Linked DNA regions of Homo sapiens: regions 1, 3, 4, 5, 6 and 7 are each linked to region 2. The links are contacts of gene promoters, found by promoter capture Hi-C in blood cells and fetal thymus (Javierre and others, 2016). All regions are on one chromosome and are shown on one strand. The core of a region is centred on a gene start or on the middle of the fragment in contact, and the rest is flanking DNA. Distances in the headings are between cores, read along the strand shown. Region 1 overlaps STON2 (stonin 2). Region 2 holds the start of SEL1L (SEL1L adaptor subunit of SYVN1 ubiquitin ligase). Region 3 overlaps TSHR-AS1 (TSHR antisense RNA 1). Region 4 has its middle 14 kb from the start of GTF2A1-AS1. Region 5 overlaps GTF2A1 (general transcription factor IIA subunit 1). Region 6 overlaps GTF2A1 (general transcription factor IIA subunit 1). Region 7 overlaps GTF2A1 (general transcription factor IIA subunit 1).

Region 1 (3,324 bases), core at 785-3,284, 270 kb after region 2:
ATTTGATAGAGTGCACAACCAGTCTTCATGCAGTAGGTCTTTGTTCTTCCAGCACTAACCGCTGACCGTTACTTTGCATTTATTTTGTCACCACAGTAAGATGGAGGTCTGAGATAGTAAGGTCAAAATTTGTGAGATAAAGTCATGATTTCAGAGGTGATATATATTTCACCATAAGTTTAGTGGTGGGAAAACAGAATGAGCTGAAGTTTTTTCTTAAAAGCCTTGGGAATATTAAATTGGTTTAAGTAGGAAGCACTACCATCCAGCCTGCTTATAGAAATGCTCCCAGTTCGAGTGGTAACTTTAACTCTTCTAAAAATGAGGATTATATGTTAATTCCAGCATATCTAGACCTTAGTCAGGGAGGTCCAATCTTTTGGCTTCCCTGGGCCACATAGGAAGAAGAATTGTCTTGGGTCACACATAAAATACAGTAACAACAGCTGATGAGCTTTAAAAACATGGCCAAAAAATAGCATTTTCTTTTTTGTTTTTTTTTTTTTTTTTTTTTTTGAGACGGAGTCTCAGTCTGTCACCCAGGCTAGAGTGCAGTGGCACGACATCGGCTCACTGCAACCTCCGCCTCCCGGGTTCAAGTGATTCTCCTGCCTCAACCTCCCGAGTAGCTGGGACTACAGGCATGTGCCACCACGCCTGACTAATTTTTGTATTTTTAGTAGAGATGGGATTTCATTATGTTGGCCAGCTGGTCTTGAACTTCTGAGCTCAGGTGATCCACCCGCCTTAGCCTCCCAGAGTGCTAGGATAACAGGCATGAGCCGCCGCGCCTGGCCAAAATAGCATAATGTTTTAAGAAAGTTTACGAATTTGTCTTGGGCCACATTCAAAACCATCATGGGCCAAGGGTTGGACAAGCTAGCCTTAGGTCATGTCCAGAATGCAATTTAACAGGAATTTCAAGCAAAACTAACAAAAAATTAAATCCACAAAAAAATATCATTTGGTAAATGCACTGTCTCACACACTTTACTACTAAGTCCCATTCAAACCATGACGACCCTTTACATAAAATTAGGGCATTCTCACCAAGTTTCTAAAGATGATTTCTAAACATTACCAAGGTCTAAGTGCTAATTCCCCACAAACCATTTCTTATCTTGTTTAAATGAGACTGGCTTTAGATATCATGACTCATATTTATGTGTTTAAGGAATTAAACGTGAAGGAGATGTATAAGGCAACCACAAATGTAGAAAACAAATGTATGTATTAGTAATATTCTCCCATGTATTAACTAGAACAAGAATGTGAGATTTTTACATTTCTTCTAGTGTGCCTTAGCAAATCTGCTGGAAAGAGTCTAGTTGTTTTGAGAATTGAAAAAAAAATGTGTCTCTCAATTTGTCAATTCTAAGCCTGTAAAGGCAGAAACTATCCACAGTAATGAGTTTGGTAGTGCCTGGAGAGAGGCAAATGATCATTGGATGTAACAAAAGCTACAAGAGAATAGACTAAAAAAAGAATTTCAATATGAAAAAGTAAAATCTAGAGAGATGACAAATCAGCATTGGGTACCAAGCCTCAAAATACTTGAACTAGAAGCCATCTCTTAAAGTTAAAAGTAAGAAGCTCCAGGAAAAATAAAGATTGCATAGTAAAAAGGGATAGATGGCAGGATTAATTCAACTCAACAAATATTTATCAAATGTCTACTCTGGTCAGGTGCTGTGTTAGCAGCCAGCTTCCCTAAAGGGAGGAAAGGCTAGACACGAGGACATTGAGGATTGTTTATTTAAAGTCACTCATAGGCATGCCATAATGGATTTATTAAGGGGAAATTGGGGTTTCTGTGAATCTTTACAGGACATAGCCATGGAGACAATCACTATGTTAAGTAAGTTGCTGTTTTCCCAATTGGGCTTCAGTTTCCTGAGACAAAAAAGTGAGGAAGTTGGATTAATTGTTTCTTCAAGTCCTTTCCAGCTCTAAAGTTGTGGGTTATTTTACAAAATATCCATTGGTGCCACCTTTCAGTGACTCTTCCTATGTTTATAAGAACCAAGAAATTTAAATTTTGAAGATTGGAAAAATCACCTGGTCCATCTTTTTCCTTTTCACATCTCTCTCTTTTTTTTTTTTTTTTTTATCATTTCCCCAGACAACAGAAACAGACAACCTTCCAAATCCTCTATATTGCAGTTGCCTTCCACACACAGATTTAAAAAGAGGATCAAAGAGGGTGGTGAAGATCAGGTGGAATGCTTCTTTGGAAGTTCCACTGGCATCATCTATCAGAACAATGGTGTGAGCATGAAGAGGCACAGACAGGTCTCCAAAATAGATGTTAGGATTTGGGTGCTACCTGACACAGAAGTAGGTCTAACCCTCCAAGTACTGGGGATGATAGGATAATCAATGAGGTATATATATATTTGTCATTTTGTATAAAATATTGTGAAAATTGAAGGAGGACACTCAGTAAACATCCTGGGACTATTTGTAAGTTATGGCAAAACCAGATGAGAGAAAAGGGACAGTCCCCTCTGTATCCTCGTTGTCTCTTAGTAACATCAAATTGTAGTTAAAAAAATTTTAAACTATGTACAAGCTACAAAATAGCATCTCTTTCATGGTATGTTTGAGTGTGTAATTTTAGTTTCTTTTCTGGTTGTATTTGTGGTAGTCAGATGTGTTGGATTGATTCCAACTGGACAGAGTAAGGAATTCCAGCATCCTCTTCCTGCTTGCTCGTGTTACCCCACAGATCAAACCCTCAATTCTAGTTGGGGATGCTGTCTAGCCCCACACCATGACTGAAGCCTTAAGCACTGTTGCGCCTCCATGTGCTTTGGATCAGCAACCCCAGTGGTATTCTACCAGAGCATTGTGGGAAAGCAGATGTATAGTCAGGTCCCAACAGCAAATTGTTGGGTGTGAGAGTTCTAAAGTATAGGGGTGAGGGAAGAGAAGGATATGAACTCCTCTGACCTTAAGCCAGCATTCATTTAACTTTTATGTCTACTTAACAAGAGAACCTGGAGAAAACTACCGTATTCAAGAGATTAATCAAAATCAGTGTTTTAGCCAGGCGATGACAGAGAAGCACCATTCCTCACCCTCCATTCTTGTAATGTCTGTAATAAATTTCAGTGCGTCAGGATGGATGAACCCAAGATCCAGTGAATGATTCAGCTGTTCCAAGCCTTACATTTTCCATCATTCATCATCCATTCTCATTCAGTGTAACCTCTTGCACTATTGTGGTTAATTTTATGTAAAACCAGTTTATGTTTTTTTTTTTTTAATATGTGCCTATGTAATAAAGTCTACACACTGGCTATCTCTGTAGAGGTGAGGTTT
Region 2 (3,572 bases), core at 684-3,183:
AGACATGATTGTGTTAATGTGAAATCTGGAAAGTAAAACGGAAGTGGCTATTTGGTCCATGCAGCAGCACCCAGAACAACCCTTAAATATAAGACGTACTCAGTAAAGACAAAACTGAAAAAAGAAGTTGGGGCTTAACTAAGCAGCAAACTTTCCCCAGTTTTAATCAAACAGATAATCACTGGCTCTTCTGTAGAAGGCAGAAGTTTCTTCCCTGGTACTTCCCCAACAGAGTAGAACTGTCAGCACAGTTCCTATTTTGTGAGTAGAATAAGTTCTAATTTTTTTTATTCTGTGAAAAGTGTAGCCATTGAAAATTTTCAATAGGCATATGAAAGCAGTGTTTAAGGAAAATTAATATGGCCATGATATGTGATTCAGGTTAAAGGGAGAATGATGTCAGTGAGTATGGCTGGAACTCAGGTGCATCATCCAGGTGAGAGAAAATGAAAGCCATTAGGGGAGTTTTCAGTGAGGAAGAGAACAGAGGTACATAATAAAATAAAACAATTTAAAAGTTACATAGTTTAAACTGATAGAACTTGATTATCAATAAGATGAAAAAGAAAGGAAAATATACCAGATTTTACTCTATGATTTATAATCAGAGGAACTCAGAGGGAACATTGTTAGTGACAGAAATGGTGATGTAGCTGAAAAGACAAGTTTTTGGAGGAGATAATTCTTTCCTTCATCTCCTCCGATGTGAATGAGAAACAGTGGTTGGTTTTTTACCATCTTCCTGAAAATAAAAGGCTGTATCTCAAAAAACAAAAAACAAAAAACAAAAAAAAAAAGGAAGGAAGACAAATGCCCAGAAGTGTTAAGACACATGGCCAGCAGAGACTTTTCCAAAGTCCTTCACTTGGCTGGACTAGGTTCTAGGCCTTAGAGCTGACTGTGGGTGGATGACAGGGAAAGCAGAATGACACGGTTTGAGAAAAGAAAGGGCAGGCACACCAAGTCACTGCTCTGCTACTCAGTTGGAACATGCCTGGATTTCGTGCTTATTACATAGAGTATTTCCGTGCCTGCGATGCAATCACTATCACCTCTACCTCCACACACGTGAACCTGGTCTCCTGACTTTAGTTAGGAAAGAAGAGAACAATGCAACTCACAAGAGGAGAAGGATGAGGACAAGTGTTTAAAATAATTTTTCAAAGCTGTTGGCACATTTTCTTTATGATTATTGTCTGGTGAACCTAGTGAAAATAAATACTGTATTGAGATAATCTGTGCCGAGCGGATTTATTTCCTTTTGTTTTGTCGGAGAAAGGAGGACAGGTACTGAGTTGCACCCTGGTTTCCGTACTTCACGGTACTGTTTTATCTAAGTTTTAAAAAACACCTCAAATTCAACTAGCTGTGGCATTTTTCTCAGTGCTCTTATCACTATGCCCAATTTAAATTTTTTAAATAAAACAGGAAAAGATGCTAAACACATTACAAGTTCTTAAAATTATTCCTTAATATTTATTTTGGGTCAATTTAAAAAGGCTTGTGAATCCATAGCCTTGAGTTAATATTTAGCCCAGGTGTTAGTTAAATTCTAACTTCAACAGTCACCCGCACTTGTAAATCTTGCCCTACGATGGACTACGTTTCCCAAGAGCACCCCCCGAGTTAATCACATGAAGCGCATTCTGGGAATTGTAGTCTCGGATGAGCCTCTTTCTCCCAGTCTTGGACTCACGCGCTGATTCCGGTTGAACCCAGGGGCTACCAATTAGCTGGGGCCATGTCCGTGAGTCGTGGTCCAACCGAGAAAGCTGGTGTGGGAGCTTCGTACAATGATTGGCCAATGAATGACCCCCGGGGCGGAGCAATGGGGGTGGGCGGGGAGACCATGGTGATTGGACCAGAAGCCCGCGACGGCGGGCGGGGATTGGCTGCGCGCTGGGTCAGGGAAGCCTGGGAAGGGGCGGAGGAAGGAGACTAGAGCAGGAAGAGCAGCGGCGAGGCGGCGGTGGTGGCTGAGTCCGTGGTGGCAGAGGCGAAGGCGACAGCTCTAGGGGTTGGCACCGGCCCCGAGAGGAGGATGCGGGTCCGGATAGGGCTGACGCTGCTGCTGTGTGCGGTGCTGCTGAGCTTGGCCTCGGCGTCCTCGGGTCAGTATCCGCCCCCTCGGGCTGAAGGCCCAGAGCCTCCGCCCCCCAGCCTCTACAGCCGGCGGGGCCGTGGGGACTCCAGGCTCGGGACCCCGTTCTCCCTGGGCACATCTCGCACTGGGCTGTCACTCGCTCTTTGGCTTTGCTTGGCCTGCGCCAAAGGGGCTATTTAGGAAGGTGGAGTGGGGTGGAAAAAGAAGGGGCGGTCACCCTGCCCACACCTCTCTCCCACGTAACAAACTTTGCGCGACTCTTCTCACGAACGCGGAATTGACTCCAAAGGAATGAATCCTGATACAGGAGCCCGAGTGGAGCTTCCTCGACCCTGGGGTAGAGGAAGGGTCTGGTCTAGAACTCTGGGCTTGGGAATTGTAAGTTAAATAATTGACAAACCTGGAGCTGTCACTTTGGGGCAGAGGAGGATCCATCCAGACCAGGATGTTGACAGTAGTTTGCTTAACACCTGAGATGGTCCCTGGTCTGTCTGTTTAAAAACGAAGACTTTTGATCTCATCGTAGCCACTTTTTACTTTTTTGAAACCTTCCTGAGAAAGCGGTGACCTGTCACAGTGTTTCTGAGTTGCCCCATGTTTGTTGACAGTCATTTTATGATGTTTGGGAAAATCTTGGTTCTTATAAGATGCGTTTTATATAGATACAGAAATTTGTGTGCTTTTGAATTGATTTTCCAGTTAGCTAATGTTTATTCTGGTTCTGCTTTTTTCCCCCTTTTTTAATGTTTTAATCTGCCTACATTTGAAAATTTCCATTTTGAGAGTGTTCATGAAAACTTCGTGTTTCTAAGTGTTGATAAATAAAAATTAGTACAGTAAAACTTTGGAATTTTAATCAGTTTCAGTTAACAGGACAGGTGTTCTGTGGCTTGACGTTTTGGGGGGACAACACGGAGTATAAATGTCAGCTTTTTCTTTTTTTAATAAATGTCAGCTTTTTTTTAACAGAAAATTTCCCAGATGGTTATCTGAATCCCCAAATTACCTGTCCTAGTTGTAAATCAATGCCATAACGTCATTCTGCTTCTAAAATAAGAGGCTTAAACCTAAATTCTATCCATGATGTGGTTTGAGATACCATTTCAAAAGCACCAACCCTATGCTAATTACTTTACTGCCAACATCATTCTTTCAGGTCCACTCCCCTCCCTCCAGTAGTAGTGATGGTTTGAGTTAATGACCAGATCTTTAGACTATACTTAACTCTCGAAGCACTTTTAGCAGTTATTTAATATTTGATCAAAAAGCATGAAATGAAGCTGTTGAGCTTAATGAGTAGAGTACCTGCTGGACCATGGACCTCCTGCATCAGAATTCCTCTTATGGGTTTGTTAAACATTGGGTTTTAGGTCTGGAACAGCTCAGGTATACATAGATTAACAATCTCCATGAGGGATTCTTCACACTAAAGAGAACTACAGTAATGAAAGAGCACGGTGTGTATCCC
Region 3 (3,137 bases), core at 279-2,778, 380 kb after region 2:
CACTTCTAGTCTACCCGTCACCTGAATACTGAACATTGTACCCAATAGGTAATTTTTGACCTTTGCCCCCTCCGACTCTCCCCAGTATCTATTATTTCCCACTATATGTCCATGTGTACCCCTTGTTTAGCTCCCACTTATAAGTGAGAACATGTAATATTTGACTTTCTGTTTCTGAGTTATTTCACTTAGGATGGTGGCCTCCGGCTCCATCCATATTGCTGCAAAAGACCTGCTTTTATTCTTTTTTAGGGCAGCATAGTATTCCATGATGCATGTATACCATATTTTCTTTCTCCAATCATTTGTTGATGGACAGTTAGGGTGATTCCATGCCTTTGCTATTGTGAACAGTGCTGTGATAAACACAGAGTGCAGGCATCTTTTTGATAGAATGATTTCTATTCCTTTGAGTAGGTACTCAGTGGGATTGGTGGGTCAAATGGTAGTTCTACTTTTAGTTCTTTGAGACATCTCCATACTTTTTCTGTATTCCCACCAACAATGTATAAGCGTTTGTTTTTCTCCACATCCTTGGCAACATCAGCTGTTTTTTGATTTTTTAATTAATAGCCATTATGACTGGTGTGAGATGGTATCTCATTGTGGCTTTAATTTGCATTTCTCTGATGATTAGTGATGTTGAACATTTTTCATGTTTGTTGGTTGCTTGTATGTCTGAAGAAATGTCTGTTCATTGTTTATGTCCTTTGCCCACTTTTCTTTTCTTTTCTTTTTTTTTTTTTTGAGACAGCGTCTTCCTTTGTTGCCCAGGTTGGAGTGCAGTGGTGTGATCTTGGCTCACTGCAATCTCCACCTCCTAGGTTCTAAGAGATTCTCCTGCCTCAGCCTCCGGAGCAGCTGGGATTACAGATGTGCACCATCACGCCCGGCTAATTTTGTATTTTTAGTAGAGACGGGGTTTCACCATATTGGCGAGGCTGGTCTTGAACTCCCGACCTCAGGTGATCCACCTGCCTCGGTCTCCCAAAGTGCTGGGATTACAGGCGTGAGCCACCGTCTCTGGCCATCCTTTGCCCACTTTTAAATGGAGTTATTTGTTTTTTTCTTGTTGAACTGAGCCAAACAAAAGCTCAGTTCAGGCAGGCCATGGTTGCTTATGCTGGTAATTCCAGCACTTTGAGAGGCTGCTGCGGACGGATCGCTTGAGTCGAGGAGTTCTGAGACCAGCCTGGGCAACATGGCGAAACCCCATTCTACAAAAAAGTACAAAAAATTAGCTGGGCATGATGGTGCTCTCCTGTAGTCCCAGCTACTCAGGAGGTTGAGGTGGGAGGATTGCTTAAACTTGGGAGGTGGAGGTTGCGGTGGGTGACAGAATGAGTCCTTGTCTCAAAAAAAAAAAAAACAAAAACAAAAAACAAAAAGAAAAAAAAATGAAAAAGCTTAATTTAACAGTTTTTCTTGCATGTGAATGACCTCTGAGCTTTTAAATGGAAAGTTGACACTGAGTTTTGGTGAATGGCAGGGGTTTTTGGTTTGTAATACAAGTGCTTTTTTTCTTATTAAGTTTTTCCTTGTAGGTTCTGGGTATCAGTCCTTTGTTGGATGCATAGTTTGCAAATATTTTCTCCCTTTCTGTAGACTGTTTACTCTGTTGATTATTTCTTTTGTTGTGCAGAAGCTTTTTAGTTTAATTAAGTTTCATTTTTCTGTTTTTGTTACGTCTTAGTCATGAATTCTTTGCGTAGGCCAATATCTAGAAGAGTTTTTCTTAGGTGTTCTTCTAGGATTTTTATGGTTTCAGGTTTTATGTTTAAGTCTTTAATCCTTCTTGAGTTAATTTTTTTTTATAGGGTGAGAGATAGGGGCCAAGTTTCATTCTTCCACATGTGGTTATCCAATTTTTCCTGCACCATTTATTGAAAAGAGAGTCCTCTGCCCAGTGTAACTTCTTGTTAGCATTATTGAAGATAAGTTGGATTGTTGGTATGTGGCTTCATTTCTGGATTCTCTATTTTGTTCCATTGATCTATGTGTCTATGTATGTACCAGTACTATGCTGTTTTGGTTATAATAGCCTTGCAGTGTAATTTGAAGTCAGGTAGTGTGATGCCTCCAGCTTTGTTCTTTTTGCTTAGGATAGATTTCTATGGAGTAACACTGCTCTGTAGTAACATTCAGAAACTGTAATAATTTTTATACTGTGGTGACACATATATCTTCCTCTCTAGATTCAAAGTTTTTTTAAAGTCTGGGACACAGTTAAAAAAATTCTGATGTATATGCTCTGCTTGCAGAAGGTACTCAATAAATGAATACAAGTCAAACAAATGCTCAATTCAAACACTTTCTTGCATGTAGATGACTAGTTCTCTGGGCTTTTAAATGGGAAGTTGAGACTGAGTTTTACTGAATTGCAGGAGTTTTTAGCTTGTAACCACAAGTGCTTCCTTACTGTAAGATAGATGACTCAATGAATAGGCTTCTTACAGAGAAAATGATGGACAGTGGACTCTTTTTTAATGATCGGTAAGAATTTATATAAGGCCATGTCTAATTTTTAACTACAGAGGATGACTATATCATAAAACAGAAAATTGTCAAATGTTCATGCTCTACCAGGGGTAAGCTATTATATTTGAGAGGACACATTTTTTTTAAAATTTCAATAGTTTTTGGGGAACAGGTAGTGTTTGGTTGCATGGAAAAGTTGTTTAGTGGTGATTTCATGGGAAAGTTGTTTAGTGATGATTTCTGAGATCTTTGTGTACCCGTCACTCAAGCAGTGTACACTGTACCTGGTGTGTACTCTTTAATCCCTCACCCACCTCCCAACCCTTCCCCCTGAGTCCCCAAAGTTCATTATATCATTATTATGCCTTTCATCCTCATAGCTTAGCTCCCACTTATAAGTGAGAACATATGATGTTTGGTTTGGGGGAGGATACATTTTTAAGGGCTCAGCATCAATTAAACATTTCATAGACATGAAAAATAATATATCAGAAATTCAATTCAAATCCAGCACGTATTTATTGAGCACATACTATGTGCCAGGGATTGTTCTAGGCTCTTGGGATGCACCAGTGAATATAACTGACAAAAATGTCTGCCTTTGTGGAGCTTATGTCCCATTATGTTTATTATAACATGATAAATAAACTAGTATATTA
Region 4 (3,111 bases), core at 192-2,691, 300 kb after region 2:
CCACGTGGGAGCCCACAGGGGGTGGTGCATGGGCATAGCGGGCTGCAGGTCCCGAGCCCTGCCCCATCAGGAGGTGGCTGAGGCCCGGTGAGAATTCAAGGGCGGCACGGGCTGGCCGGCAGTGCTGGGGAAACCGGCGCACCCTCCACAGCTGCTGGCCCAGGTGCTAAGCCCCTCACTGCCCGGTGCCCCCAGCCGGCTGCTCTGAGTGTGGGGCCTGCTGAGCCCGTGCCCGGCCAGAACTGGCACTGGCCCATGAGCACCATGCGCAGCCCCGGTTCCCGCCTGCGCCTCTCCCTTCACATCTCCCTGCAAGCAGAGGGAGCCGGCTCCAGCCTCGGCTAGTCCAGAGAGGGGCCCCCACAGCGCAGTGGCGGGCTGAAGGGCTCCTCGAGCATGGCCAGAGTGGACGCTGAGGCCGAGGAGGCACGGAGAGCGAGGGCTGCTAGCACGTTGTCACCTCTCAATTTATCTAATATCTCACTTCAAAATTTTATTTCATTACAACTTCCAATTCACTGAGTCTATTATTTTTTCATTATCTATTGCCCTTTCAAAGACACACATCTCATTGAACCCCTTAGATTCAATGGACTATCATCATAGTCACTCACTGAGATCAGGGCAAGTGGTCTCCTCTTTATGAAGATGACTCAGGAGTTGCACACATCACATTTCGCACCCTATTGGATCAGCTGGGAAGTGGGGCCTTTGGGGAGTTATTTAGATAATGAGGGCTCTGCCCTTATAAATGGATAAATGCCTTTATAAAAGACTTGAAGGGGGAAAGTTCACTCTTTTCCAACCCTTTCATTCCTTCCATCATGTGAAGACATGGCATTCTTCCCTTCCAGAAGACGCTATCTTGGAAGCTGAGTCCAGGTTCTCACCAGACACTGAACCTATCAGCTCCTTAATCTTGGACTCCCAGCCCTCAGTACTGTGAAAAGTAAGTTTCTGTTCTTTATAAGTCACCCAGTCTCAGGTATCTTGTTGTAGCAGCACAAATGAAATAAGACAACTGGCTAAAACTCAGGGCATTCTATTATTAAAAGAAAAGAGGATGTGACTATTTGGGGACAGTTAGTGATGTCTGCACATTACTTAAGCCTAAACGCCCACCTAGTCTGTGCTTTCCCACAAGTAACTAACAGATCAAAGTATGCAGCCATGATGATTCTCACTCCAAATCTCAAGTGAGCAATCAATTCTACATAACAAACTTATACCCGTATTTAATACATTTGATCTTCTGCTCTCAAGAAATGGCTATTTTGGGTGTTCTCCTCTTTTCTCAAACTTCTCACAATCCCTTAGTATCTTTTACACCTCACTCTCAGCTGGTAACTTTCTCTTGTATTCTATAGAAAAAGTGAAAGCAATCCCAGGGAGTTACTTTTCTTTCCCCACTAAATCTACTAGCTCATTCTAACATTCTTTTCTCTCATTTCAATTCTGACTTTCTTTGCCCACATTTTTTTCTCCTTTTACAGTACACAAAAGCAAAAGATGTTCCTAGCAAAGATGAACACCTCTAAAGCCTATCTTCAGCCTTTCTCAAGGACAGATGTCTGTAATAAGCACTTTCTCTTGTACTATTATGTTTTGATTTTCTGTTGGATTTTTCCAACAGTTAGGAAATAGTCTCTAATAAATACCACCTTCAAAAAATTATTAGAAGAGAGGACTCTGGGAAGATAGCAGAGTAGAGAGCACCTGAAATCTGTCTCCCCAACTTGACAACAATTGCACTGAGGGAATCTGTCTTACCTATTTTGAAACTCTAGTGTCTGTTGAAGGCTTGCAGCTTCCAGGGAAGGCTTGGATGGTAAATTGCAGTTAATTCTGGTCAATTTTAGCTTAGCACAGTAGCAGCTACCCATCCCCCACCCCCCAGCCCTTTGGCAAGCAGCCATGCACACATTCCAGGAGCAGCTTTCATATAGCTTGCAGATGCCAGGGTGAGTAAAAAGGACCCTTTCCTCCAAATATCAGGGATCTGGACTTTAATCACTGATTGCTGTTTCTGATTCACAAAGGTGCAGACAGAGGCAGGTAGCCATTGTTGACCTCTCCCAACTGTTGTATGCCCCTCCCCCTCCAGCTGAAGCAACTTCCAGGGGATTAAAAGGGCTGGCACCCCCTACTCCATTTATTTTTCTTTTTTTCCCCCTTTTCAGAGCCATATATTAATGACTAGGATGTTCAAAAGTAACAGGAGTTCGAGATCAGCCTGACCAACATGATGATGGAGTGCTGCTGTGTACACTAAACTTTATGGCTTGGCAGGTCAAATAATGCCCAGTTCATGAAGGGCAGCTCAGGTCACACAGTAATTGGTAGCCCATGGTCAAGCACTCAGGTTCTACTAAGGCCCAGTAACAGGCCAAGAGCTGTCTCTCAAAAGAAGAATAGTTATCTGCAGAAAATGGCAGGGTCCTGATCTAAAATCCTAAAGGGCTGCACTGCAGTTCACCTACAGGAGCCTTCCAAAGACTCCATCAGCATTCCTGTCTGCCACTGAGACTTCAGGCAATACTGGATCGGCTGGATCATATGGCCCCAGTGGCAAAGCAGCTTGCACAGCAGTATGGATCTCTTGCAGAGCCTTTTCCTGTTCTGGGCCCTACTCAAAACTAGCAGCTTTTTGGGTCACTTGGTAAATGGGCTAGAGTAACAAATCCAAATAAGGAATAGGTTGCACCTAAAATCTAAATAGGCCCACTAGAGGTTACAATTCTTTCTTGGCTGTAGGGGGGGCCAAAGGCAACAACTTATCCTTCACTTTGGAAGGGCTATCTCAGTATGCCTCACACAACTGAACCCCTAGAAATTTAATTGAGATAGAAGGCCTCTGAATTTTAGTCAGGTTTATCTCCCATTCTTGGACACACAACTGTTTTACAAGTCTAAGAGTAGTTGCCACTTCTCACTCACTAGGTCCAATCAGTATAATGTTGTTAAATCAAGTTTAGCCTAAACCTTCTTCCTTACATATTTTAACTTCAGCCTAAAGGTGTCTGTGTACATCATGAACTATAACCTAAATGGAGTTGTATATAGACCGTAGCCTACTCTTATATCAGTCAGCAAGTTTTGGCCAATCAAATA
Region 5 (3,288 bases), core at 757-3,256, 360 kb after region 2:
TATGGAGGAATGAAAAGAGTTGTCTCCCTCTAAGAGTATACTATTTTTGATTCTCATAGCAATAATGTCACCATTCTTATCAGAGGGTAAATACCCCTTGTATAGGAAAACAGACATAATTTCCTCTTGGGAGTTCTCTTTATGACTTAGCATTTTCTTCTACTTGAGAAAATTCCTGTTTTTCCGATTATTTCATCTTGAACTTTCTTTTTTTTAAGCTTTTGTGCAATGTAATAGTTTGTTGATCCATCTTTGTACATTTTCATTTTATTTCATGTCTTTCTCTCACCTACCTGTCAGAATCAGCTATAGCAGATTTTGAATTCTTTAGTTAAAAAATAGTTGCTTTACTTGTTTCCTCATGAGTTTGTTAAATAGCTTTGCATTTTAGTCCTCTATTATGCTATGAAAATTATTACGAAGTTTATATTGTTCCCTTTTTAAGCCTGCCTTACTCTTGTCTTTTGTCATTGTCTATGGTTTAATGAAGAACACACCAAACTAACATTTTTGTTTATTTTGAGGAACAAAAAAACTTTTCTCTTTTAAGGGAAGTTACTACACATTGAGTTAGTAACTACTCTTTCAGTCAAGGTTCCTTAATCAGTCCAGTCTACATCAGGACTATGACTTGGGGGGCGGGGCTAATCCTTTTTGCTGTTCTGAGCTACTATTGTCAACTGCTGTTGTACATACTGTTATGTGTAATGGCGTAAATATATTTATTATGTTTGTAAAATTCATTGCAGATCAAGGTTGCTCTTCTGTGATATATGGGATATTATGTTTTAAAGACCATCTTGGAATACAATTAGAGAACTTAGTATTTTGATGTACTAAGACCTATTTTAAGTTTAATATTCTACTTTGCAAAAACTTTAATTAAAGATGTTATTTAAAAAAAAATGTTGCTTGCTTTGCTTACTAGTATATGGCATTGTTATAGATAATTGAATAAAATACAATTTAGAAAGGAAAATGCTTTACATTGTTAATGAGAATTCCATTTAACAACAACAAAAAGATGCTAAATTCTGTACCTTAAAGATAAGTAGATTGAGATGTCAATTTGAATTAGTAAACTGTGTTACAAATGATTAATACTAGCTTTTAAAAAGTTGTATTTTCCAGGCACACAGGAATTTAGGTTGGGCGAATTCACACTAACAAATTATAACTAAAAATTGGTATAATTAACATTGTTTTTCAAAATAAAGATTACTCCTTGTGAAATATTAATAATTAACATATTGTATTAAATAAGTATTTCTACTCCAAAGTATAGATTACTTAGGATAAAAACATTGTTATTTCTCTGTTTAGTCAAACCACTTCCTCTTAGTTCAGAGGTTATAAATAATTGCATATTAGGAGAATTGGATTACTGAGGTTTGTATTGCGTATTGAATATATTTTGTGTTATTTTAGAAGATAATAATTAGCAGGTATTTTAATTTTATAGTTAATTCAGCTGAATCATTAAGAAGCTCGCCTTTTTGTATTTTTTTATCCTGTTAACAGACTATCTAGAAAACATGCAAATTTTAACTATTAACATAATCATAATAAAGATATCTTATTTATTGCCAGCAAATCTTGTATTTTGCAGTTTAATTCAAGCCCCTACTTTGATTAAGCTTAAGCTTTTGGCTTTTGTTTCTCCAGCTGTAAAATGACAAGATTTTGAGGATGAAATGAGGTGTGATGCATGTAAAGCTCTTAGGCTGGTGCCTGGTACACAGTCAGCACTCAGATGTCACAATTATATGCTTAATTTCATACTTATTTGCATAGTTTAAAATTATTCTTGAACCGGAAAAAATTAATGGTCAAAAATAGCAAAAACAAATTGAGAACCAGTGAAAGAGTTCATTATAACCAAACAATCCTGGGAGGGTAAGTTGGTGAAACAATGCATCTGGCTACAGCAGAAAGTGTCAGAGGGAAGAAAATTGAGTGCTGGGTATGGGAGAGGGATAATCAAACAGTGGGAGGGCCTTTAAGCTCCCTCTCTCCCCCCGCCAAAAAAATCCTAAATTATATGTCTAAATAAGTTGAATTTTCTCAAAGCTAAAACTATGATAGAACTATCATTTTAAAAATGGACTTTTCCAAATATGAATGGAGTCTGTCCAGTTCATTTAAGGAGCAAAACAGAGTTGTCAAACATTGAAGATACGGATACATCACTCTGATTCTCACAATGTCTCCTCCACTTTGAAAAAGAGTACATTGACTTCTCTGTGTTGACAGGACCTCCATGCTAATGATGCATAGGTTAGGGTGGCATTGCTGAGTGGGGCAAATAGGGCCAGGAAAACTAAAGTTCACCCAGGTTAGTTGCAAGAGATGAAGAGAGTAAAGCTTTTTTTGTTTTTAGAGACAAGAGTCTCGCTCTGTTGCCCAGGCTGGAGTGCAGCGGCACCATCTCAGCTCACTGCAAGCTCCGCCTCCCGGGTTCACACCATTCTTCCGGCTCAGCCTCCCAAGTTAACTGGGACTACAGGTTCCCGCCACCACGCCTTCCTAATTTTGTTTTTGTATTTTTAGTAGAGACGGGGTTTCATCATGTTAGGATGGTCTCGATCTCCTGACCTCATGATCCACCCGCGTTGGCCTCCCAAAGTGCTAGGATTACAGGCTTGAGCCACTGCGCCCGGCTGAGAGTAAAGCTCTTTAGAGCTGTTCACTTTCAGCAGGGATGTACAAGGGACATTTGTTGTTTTGGCTTCTCAGTGTCAGAATACCCTTCCTATTTTGCTTCATGCCAAGAAGAATGGAGGGTAATATATACCTCTTTATGGAAGTAGAATAGCAAGTAAGAAGTCACCTGTCACTGGATCCAGAAACAGGGACCAAAATCTGAGGTGGTCAGACTGATGCTTACACTCAGGACTTTGAGTCTTAAGAGCATGAAACAAAGTTGCAGGATCAGTCAGAGGTCCTATATATGTTCAGGTCTGGTGGTGTGATATTGACTGGGGCAAGAGTGCTATTGGCAACCTCCTAAGCAGACTTTGGCTGCAAACTACTGTACCCTTCCAATCCCTTTTCTGCTTAAAATAAGTCTGTTTCTGTTGTTTGCAACCAAGAAAGAAAAGCATTATTCATGCAAAGTGTGTCTTAAGATATCACCTTTCCCTTGTAGGAGTCTTTTGCCTTCCCAATTAGCCCCTTCTTCCCATTAGACATTCAATATCCTATTCAAAAATCTTCAGTGAATTACCAAAATAGCAATACTTGTAATACCAGCATCACAATTGTGGTTGGCTGATTATCTTCGAACAT
Region 6 (3,371 bases), core at 453-2,952, 330 kb after region 2:
CATTGTATGTAAAGTGTTCTTGTGATTATAAAATAGCCTCATGGTTCCTTGTTTGCATGTTCGCTTGTTTTTTTGTAGCCACAGCACCACAAGTTATTGTTCCAGATTCTAAGTTGATACAGCATATGAATGCATCAAACATGGTAAGACTCAGAATGTAGCAGTTTGATTGGCTGTACTTAATTCTAACCCACATTGTAATTATGCCTATATATGTCCTATATTAACTACTTGAAGTTTATTGAAGACTCAAGCAAAACAGCTGTTTTAGTTTCCTGAATATTGGATCTGAAGTTTAGCTTGGTACCTAGACATTAAGGTTCATAAAATTACGGAATTGTTTAAGAATACCAAAAGAATGGTGCTTTGTGAGAGTTATTCCATTCCCTACTATTTCCGAAAAAGTTTTAGGGTACCTACCAAGCTTATAATGCCAAGTATGGTTCTGTTTCAGGAGACCTAGTAATTGCAAGAGGGTGGGAAGGCTAAGAATTGTGAACTTTTAAAAAATGAAGATAGACTGGATAGTTCAGTATAACTATTTTTAAAATCAAGCATTTAAAAATATTACTCTGACTTAACCATAGTATAGTCTAATAAGTCATTATAGTGTGTAAATTACCACAGAATACATTTTAACCAGCTGAGTTATATTAGAATTTTTATATTTCTGAGGACTATCCACTAAACTTTACAAGTCCTCACTCATATTTTCAAATTACATTTCAGACATATAATATTTCTCAACAAATGTAGTATAGGTTAACTGTAAACTTGAAAGAACCTCTTCAGATCCTTAGAAAATCTTTACCTATATCCTTGAAGTTGTTTTTTGTTTTTTTTTTTTTTTTGGATAAAACATTAAAATATAGTCAGATTAGAGTAGTTCAATACTTCCTTATAAATGGTTTTTCTTTATTCTGTTTAAAATATACAGACTGTTGATTTCATTGAGTGGTGACTCAGCTCTTACATTTCATTCTTCAGCCAAAACTTTTATTTAAAGGTGAAAGAATCAATATTTGTAAAAAGATCTTTTAACCTATGTAACTAGTTAGTACTAGAAATGAGATTTTTTTTTCCCTCCGTTCAAGTTTTTTTTTTTTTTTGAAGATGGAGTCTTACCCTGTCACCCAGGCTGGAGTGCAGTGGTGTGATCTTGGCTAACTGCAACCTCCGCCTCCTAGGTTCAAGTGATCCTCCCACCTCAGCCTCCTGAGTAGCTGGGAGTACAGGTGTATGTCACCACACCTGGCTAATTTTTTTGTACTTTTAGTAGAGACAGGGTTTCACCATGTTGGCCAGGCTGGTCGCCCAACTCCTCACCTCAAGCGATCTGCCCACCTCGGCCTCCTGAAGTGTTAGGATTACAGGTGTGAGCCACCACGCCCAGCCTCAAGTTTTTTTTTAAACCAAAAAGCAGTGTATGAAAAGATGAGTTCTACTTTGTGAGTGATACTGAATCACAAAGTTCATTTGTGGTTTATAAGCCAGATAAGAAGGGCTTACCCACTAGACAGATGACTTCCTCCTACACATTACCAGCCTCACAAATTCATACTGTGGCAGAATTGAAAGTTTCTACATGATAGTAGAAATTGCAGTTTTTAAATTCACAAATATCGAGGATCTCTGTTTGTACTTGTAGTTGCAGTTTCTAGAATCTTTTCGTTTACATGAAAATAAAAAATTTCATGCCTGTTATTTCTCACAAGATTTTTTATTGGAAAAAACTCCATTTTAAGTCTAAGGCCCCAATTTTTTTTAACCTCCACCCTTAAAAAAAAAAAAGTCTCACTATATGTTGCTTATTGTAGTTGATGTTATTAAGACTATATCCTAGGGAATAACTCACATTATTTTAAAACAAATTTTGGCAGAGTCTCTTGTGGTAGGCCCCTCTAAAAGAATTTTAAATGTTGTGGAAGAGAATTTTGAATTAGTAAGTTATTTCTGGGATAAAAATTAGTGGTCCATCTCTTACTTACTGGTTAAGTCTCCTTTATTCTAAAGAGCATATGTATTTAAACAAATCATAGGTCAGTTACTCAGGAAAATTGATTTAACATTTCTGTATATTTTACATTTTACTTTGTTGTTTTTAGTCAGTGTTTCCTTCATGTATTTCTGAACATAATCAGTATAGGCTCTGTACCAATAAAAGTGTTTTAGGTTTTTGTGGGTTTGCATTATTCTGATTTAGAAATAGCAAAAATATATTTGTTCTTTCTAATGGCTCTGTTTGCATTAGAAATGAACTAATCATAAAAACGTGAGATAATATAGTAGAAGGCTATTTCAGGGAACTTCTAGAAAACCATTGTTTTCGGTTCTTTTTTATGAAATGATTGGTCTAATGCATTATTTGTGTTTGGGCTGTTTTGTGGAATACAAGAAGAAATTTTAATAGTTATTAAGTATAAGGTGGTTAGTGTATGGTACATGACTCAGCAAATATATGTTATGCAGCTTGAATTTGTGGAGGGTGTGCAGGTAGTTATTGGGTCGTGTATTCTATATGGAAACTACTATGTCAGTTTGCTGGTAGAGGGAGAATTGCTGTCTTTCAAAATATGAATTATAGGCACTTAATATTTCTAAATATTTTTGTTTTTTTCTTTTTAAATATTTCTTAATAGTATGTGGTGGTTAATATTTTCCTTAAACTTAGATAACCTTTAATTTGCTTATATAGCCAAGTTTTATTTTAAATTGGGTAATTGAGTATCCAACTTAAATACGAATCACCCGGGTGGGCTATAGTTAAATTCTGGAGACACAGTGGGAATTTCAGGCCCAAGATGTAGAAATTACTTAGGTTTGTCAAGTGGCAACAAGTGTATTTTCTTGGAAAGCTATGTACCTAGAGCCCAGACTAGACAGTAGTTGAACTATTAACTCAGTTTAATAATTTTCTAAGTTTGTTGACTTCTCTGACACTAGCATTTCCAAAGCAGTTATATTTATTTTTTTAAGCTTTTTCAGATATGGGTAGTTCTAAAACTGTATAGGTTAGATTGAATGTATGAATGGTTGGTAGCTAAAGAAGATTGAAAAGAGAGGGAAAAAACTACCAAAATGTGTAGCTATAGCGGGATACAGGAAAATACTTAAAGTGCAGAATAAAAAACCAGAGAATGGCATAATTCTTTGCGGGAGGACAGGAGGAGAAAACTCTCCAGAACTCTCCAGGAAGTCAAGAATTTGTCCTGGATTTAAAGAAATTCATAATATAATCCCGTCTATATCTTTATAACTTAAGTGTCACATACTAACTTGATTTCAAAATGTTGAAACTAAAGTTTGTGACTATTGCCCAGGCTGGAGTGCAGTGGCACAATCTCGGCTCACTGCAACCTCCACCTTCAGGT
Region 7 (3,112 bases), core at 609-3,108, 320 kb after region 2:
CCCAGATATTTGAATTGGTTTTCTTGTAATGAGAAGGATTAAATAGTATTTAATGGTTGAGGTAAATTGTATTGACAAACTCATTTGTATTTGTTTGTTTTCTGAGACAGGGTCTGGGCCTGTCACCCAGGCTGGAGGGCAGTGGTGCAATCTTGGCTCACTGCACCCTCTCCCTCCTGGGCTCAAGCCATCCTCCCACCTCAGCCTCCCAAGCAGCTGGGACTACAGGCACGTGCCACCACTCCTGGCTAATTTTTTGTGGAGATTGGGTTTCACTATGTTACCCAGGCTGGTCTTGAACTCTTGAGCTCAAGCGATCCTCCCAAAATTGGTTTTATTTGATAGCGATTAACCTTAAGCAAGGTATGAAACAGAAGTAATGAGAAAACATCTAAAAAGCTTGTTAACCATAACCCTCTGATAATGGGGAGGATTTATAACCAGGCAACTCTAGTTTTGTCAAGGCAGCTCTAGTTTTGTCATCTGACATGACTTCCTTTTGTCTAACAGGTTAAAAATAGGATGTGGGGGAAAAAATAGGATGTGGATTGGGCTAATTGTTCTATCTCCCACTTTGTAGTTTTTAAAAAATATTTTATACTTTTTGAAAGTTCTTTCACATCTATTCTCATTTTACTCATTTTACCATTCAACCTTCTAGAAGCCAGCTTCTTTACTTCCCGCTCCTCCAAGTAGTATCAACGGTGCTAATTGTAATAATAATAGTAAACATTTAGAGGGTTCATGTTCATTATAATGTTTCATAGCATTACCTGGGCAGTAGTAGAGGAGAAATCCTGGGAAGGAAATCAGTATACCTTGTTCCTTGGGACCTTAAGACCTGCCATTGTGAGTGTATGAGTAGTTTAATGGTACAGCTTGAAAGTACAGACTGGGTCACACAACAGAAGTTAGGTGATTTTTAAACCTGAATGTTCATTAGGTTGCAGATTATTACCAGGCAGATGACTCCCGGACATAAGATTCTCCAAAGTCTAAGATACAGTGGTGAGGTAGTAAGACATACAACAGAGTTCAAACCAAGCATGGAATAGTAGAAGCCAGACATAAGCAACCCGTAAAGCTATTATTGAACATTACATTAGGTATTTTGACTACAACATAGGAAATTATAATTGGAAATTGTATGGACCTTGTAGTCTTAGGGGCCTTCTGTTTATGAACTGCATTAATCTTAAAATTTTTATTAAAGTGTGCAGTCATCAAATCCAGTTTATGGCAAATGATGGTGGTCGTATCTTTAAAGTCATATATAGATAGTTGGCAAAATGACTATTCGTTTTGAATTTGTGAAAACCTGTTATACATTATAAGCTGTGAAAAACTGTCTTTTTCAAGTCTTTTATTTTTCCTTTAAAGCCTAAATTATACAGATCTGTGATTGAAGATGTCATTAATGATGTGAGAGACATCTTTCTGGATGATGGAGTGGATGAACAAGTACTGATGGAACTAAAAACTGTGAGTTTGTCTTTTTTTTAAAATATTCCTACTTTTCCCCCACAAAACATTTTCTTTAGCCGGAGATGAATCTGTAATTTTTCTATAGGATGAACGTATAGTTGAGTGAAGTGTGCTGGTTTTAAATCCCAACTCTGCCATGCATTCTTCCTCTGACCTTAGGCAAGCTACATTTATATTTCAGTTTTCTTATACGTAAGATGGAAATTGGTAGTACTTACCTTATAGGTTTGTTTTGAGGATTAAATGGAATAACCATATAAAATCTTAGCACAATGCTTGATAGTAGCATTAGCAGTTATTATTGGATAGTTAACATTCTACATTTTATGGTCTAATTACTTGACATGTCTGGAAGAATTTTGTTGCTTTCTTTTTTCGTTTTTTATTTTTGAGACAGGGTCGGGCTCTGTCGCCCAGGCTGGAGTGCAGTGGCACAATCTGGACTTACTGCAACCTCTGCCTCCCAGACTCAAACCATCCTCCCACCCCTGGGACTACAGGCACATGCCAGCATGCCTGGCTAATTTTTGTATTTTTGGTAGAGATGGTTTTCACCATGTTGTCAAGGCTGCTTTCGAACTCCTGGCTGCAAGTGATCCTCCCGCCTCGGCCTCCCAAAGTGATAGGATTATGGGTGTGAGCCACAGCGCCCAGCCTTAATCTTATCTTTTTTTAATGGTCTTAATGTACCTGTATTCTAAAGTGTGTTTTAAGTTGTAGGGATTAAGTGCTTGATAAAAGAATTTTAGGTTCTTGAAGTAGACCCTTTATGTAGGCCGAATGTTTTGAATATATTTTACATTGAGAGCTGGTTTTCTGTATCTTGGATTCAAGTGGAAATATTTAGATTTTTTTTATTAGCAGTTGTGTTTTCCTTGCATTGTAATGACTCATGAAATTGTGGAATATTTTTGCCCTGTTGATTAGAATAGTGGTTCTCAAGGTATAGTTCATGGAGCCCTGGATTCTCCCCAAGGGTTCTTTCAGGGGGTCCACAAGGTTGACTAAATGCTTAAGTCTGGAAAATCATAGTTTGCCCGTCATTCTTTCAAGTAAAAGTTGTATTCTGTGAGAAAAGTGACCAGTTAAATTCACAATTCAAGTGCACAGGTGCTTTTCCTTGAGATAACTGTAAATAAGCAGCAGAAATGCTTTATGTATACTTCTCATTTCTGACAAACTGAATATTAAAAAGATGAGGACTCAATGTTGATATTAAGAAATTTGATTGTTTGATATTCCGTAATGAAGTGTGTTTACAGTTGAAAGATCCATATAATTCACTGAACTTGTATTTTCTGAATATCCAATGCATAATGTTGGAAAATTCATTCAAAATGCAAGATAAATTAATGGACTTTAAAAGTATGAAAAGTTCACAGTTATATGGTTTCATATTCTGCATTGTAACTAACTATTAAGAAACTGTCACTTAAAAGTACCTTTTCTTTTCCCAACTACTTAATTGTAGGAAGGCAGATTTTCTTTGTACACCTCCACCAAAACAAAGCAAAAACAGGGTCAGATACGAGAATCTAGCTATTTTCCTTTAAGTCATTTGTCATTCTCACTCAATTTTATTTACTAAAATATGGCTATTTTCAGAAAAATGTTATTTATGTTAACA

The links. Contacts are between HindIII fragments. The CHiCAGO score rates a contact against its expected background, and 5 or more counts as called.
Region 1: a fragment that was not itself captured here is called in contact with the fragment with the promoter of SEL1L in region 2 in 3 of 17 cell types (naive CD8 T cells, neutrophils and naive CD4 T cells); the score reaches 6.2 in naive CD8 T cells.
Region 3: a contact is called between a fragment that was not itself captured here and the fragment with the promoter of SEL1L in region 2, in 5 of 17 cell types (activated CD4 T cells, total CD8 T cells, monocytes and 2 more). The highest score is 6.9, in activated CD4 T cells.
Region 4: a fragment that was not itself captured here is called in contact with the fragment with the promoter of SEL1L in region 2 in 4 of 17 cell types (naive CD4 T cells, naive CD8 T cells, non-activated CD4 T cells and 1 more); the score reaches 7.1 in naive CD4 T cells.
Region 5: a contact is called between a fragment that was not itself captured here and the fragment with the promoter of SEL1L in region 2, in 6 of 17 cell types (total CD8 T cells, total CD4 T cells, non-activated CD4 T cells and 3 more). The highest score is 7.1, in total CD8 T cells.
Region 6: a fragment that was not itself captured here is called in contact with the fragment with the promoter of SEL1L in region 2 in 10 of 17 cell types (naive CD4 T cells, non-activated CD4 T cells, total CD4 T cells and 7 more); the score reaches 8.6 in naive CD4 T cells.
Region 7: a fragment that was not itself captured here is called in contact with the fragment with the promoter of SEL1L in region 2 in 12 of 17 cell types (non-activated CD4 T cells, total CD8 T cells, total CD4 T cells and 9 more); the score reaches 13.2 in non-activated CD4 T cells.

Annotation. Positions count from the first base shown.
Region 1 is chr14:81,260,730-81,264,053 of GRCh38, reverse strand. It overlaps STON2 (stonin 2), which reads left to right. Exons shown (of 8, transcript NM_001394390.1): 8 at 1-3,324. Among named protein-coding and RNA genes, the nearest start is that of GTF2A1-AS1, 41 kb to the right of the region's middle. RefSeq lists an enhancer at 1-197. The HindIII fragment of the contact is 4,982 bases long and covers 1-3,324 here.
Region 2 is chr14:81,532,214-81,535,785 of GRCh38, reverse strand. SEL1L (SEL1L adaptor subunit of SYVN1 ubiquitin ligase) reads left to right here and starts at 1,933. Exons shown (of 21, transcript NM_005065.6): 1 at 1,933-2,111. The coding sequence starts at 2,042. RefSeq lists a silencer at 1,810-1,929 and an enhancer at 1,646-2,145. The HindIII fragment of the contact is 11,079 bases long and covers 1-3,572 here.
Region 3 is chr14:81,156,887-81,160,023 of GRCh38, reverse strand. The region is part of intron 2 of TSHR-AS1 (TSHR antisense RNA 1); the gene reads left to right. Among named protein-coding and RNA genes, the nearest start is that of TSHR-AS1, 12 kb to the left of the region's middle. The HindIII fragment of the contact is 239 bases long and covers 1,409-1,647 here.
Region 4 is chr14:81,233,284-81,236,394 of GRCh38, reverse strand. No RefSeq gene overlaps it. Among named protein-coding and RNA genes, the nearest start is that of GTF2A1-AS1, 14 kb to the right of the region's middle. RefSeq lists an enhancer at 863-1,022. The HindIII fragment of the contact is 4,433 bases long and covers 1-3,111 here.
Region 5 is chr14:81,173,758-81,177,045 of GRCh38, reverse strand. GTF2A1 (general transcription factor IIA subunit 1) reads left to right here. Exons shown (of 9, transcript NM_015859.4): 9 at 1-1,594. Among named protein-coding and RNA genes, the nearest start is that of TSHR-AS1, 5.0 kb to the right of the region's middle. The HindIII fragment of the contact is 721 bases long and covers 1,646-2,366 here.
Region 6 is chr14:81,198,366-81,201,736 of GRCh38, reverse strand. It overlaps GTF2A1 (general transcription factor IIA subunit 1), which reads left to right. Exons shown (of 9, transcript NM_015859.4): 4 at 79-143. Among named protein-coding and RNA genes, the nearest start is that of SNORA79, 2.8 kb to the left of the region's middle. The HindIII fragment of the contact is 2,552 bases long and covers 427-2,978 here.
Region 7 is chr14:81,214,783-81,217,894 of GRCh38, reverse strand. GTF2A1 (general transcription factor IIA subunit 1) reads left to right here. Exons shown (of 9, transcript NM_015859.4): 2 at 1,381-1,482. Among named protein-coding and RNA genes, the nearest start is that of GTF2A1, 4.6 kb to the left of the region's middle. The HindIII fragment of the contact is 2,914 bases long and covers 402-3,112 here.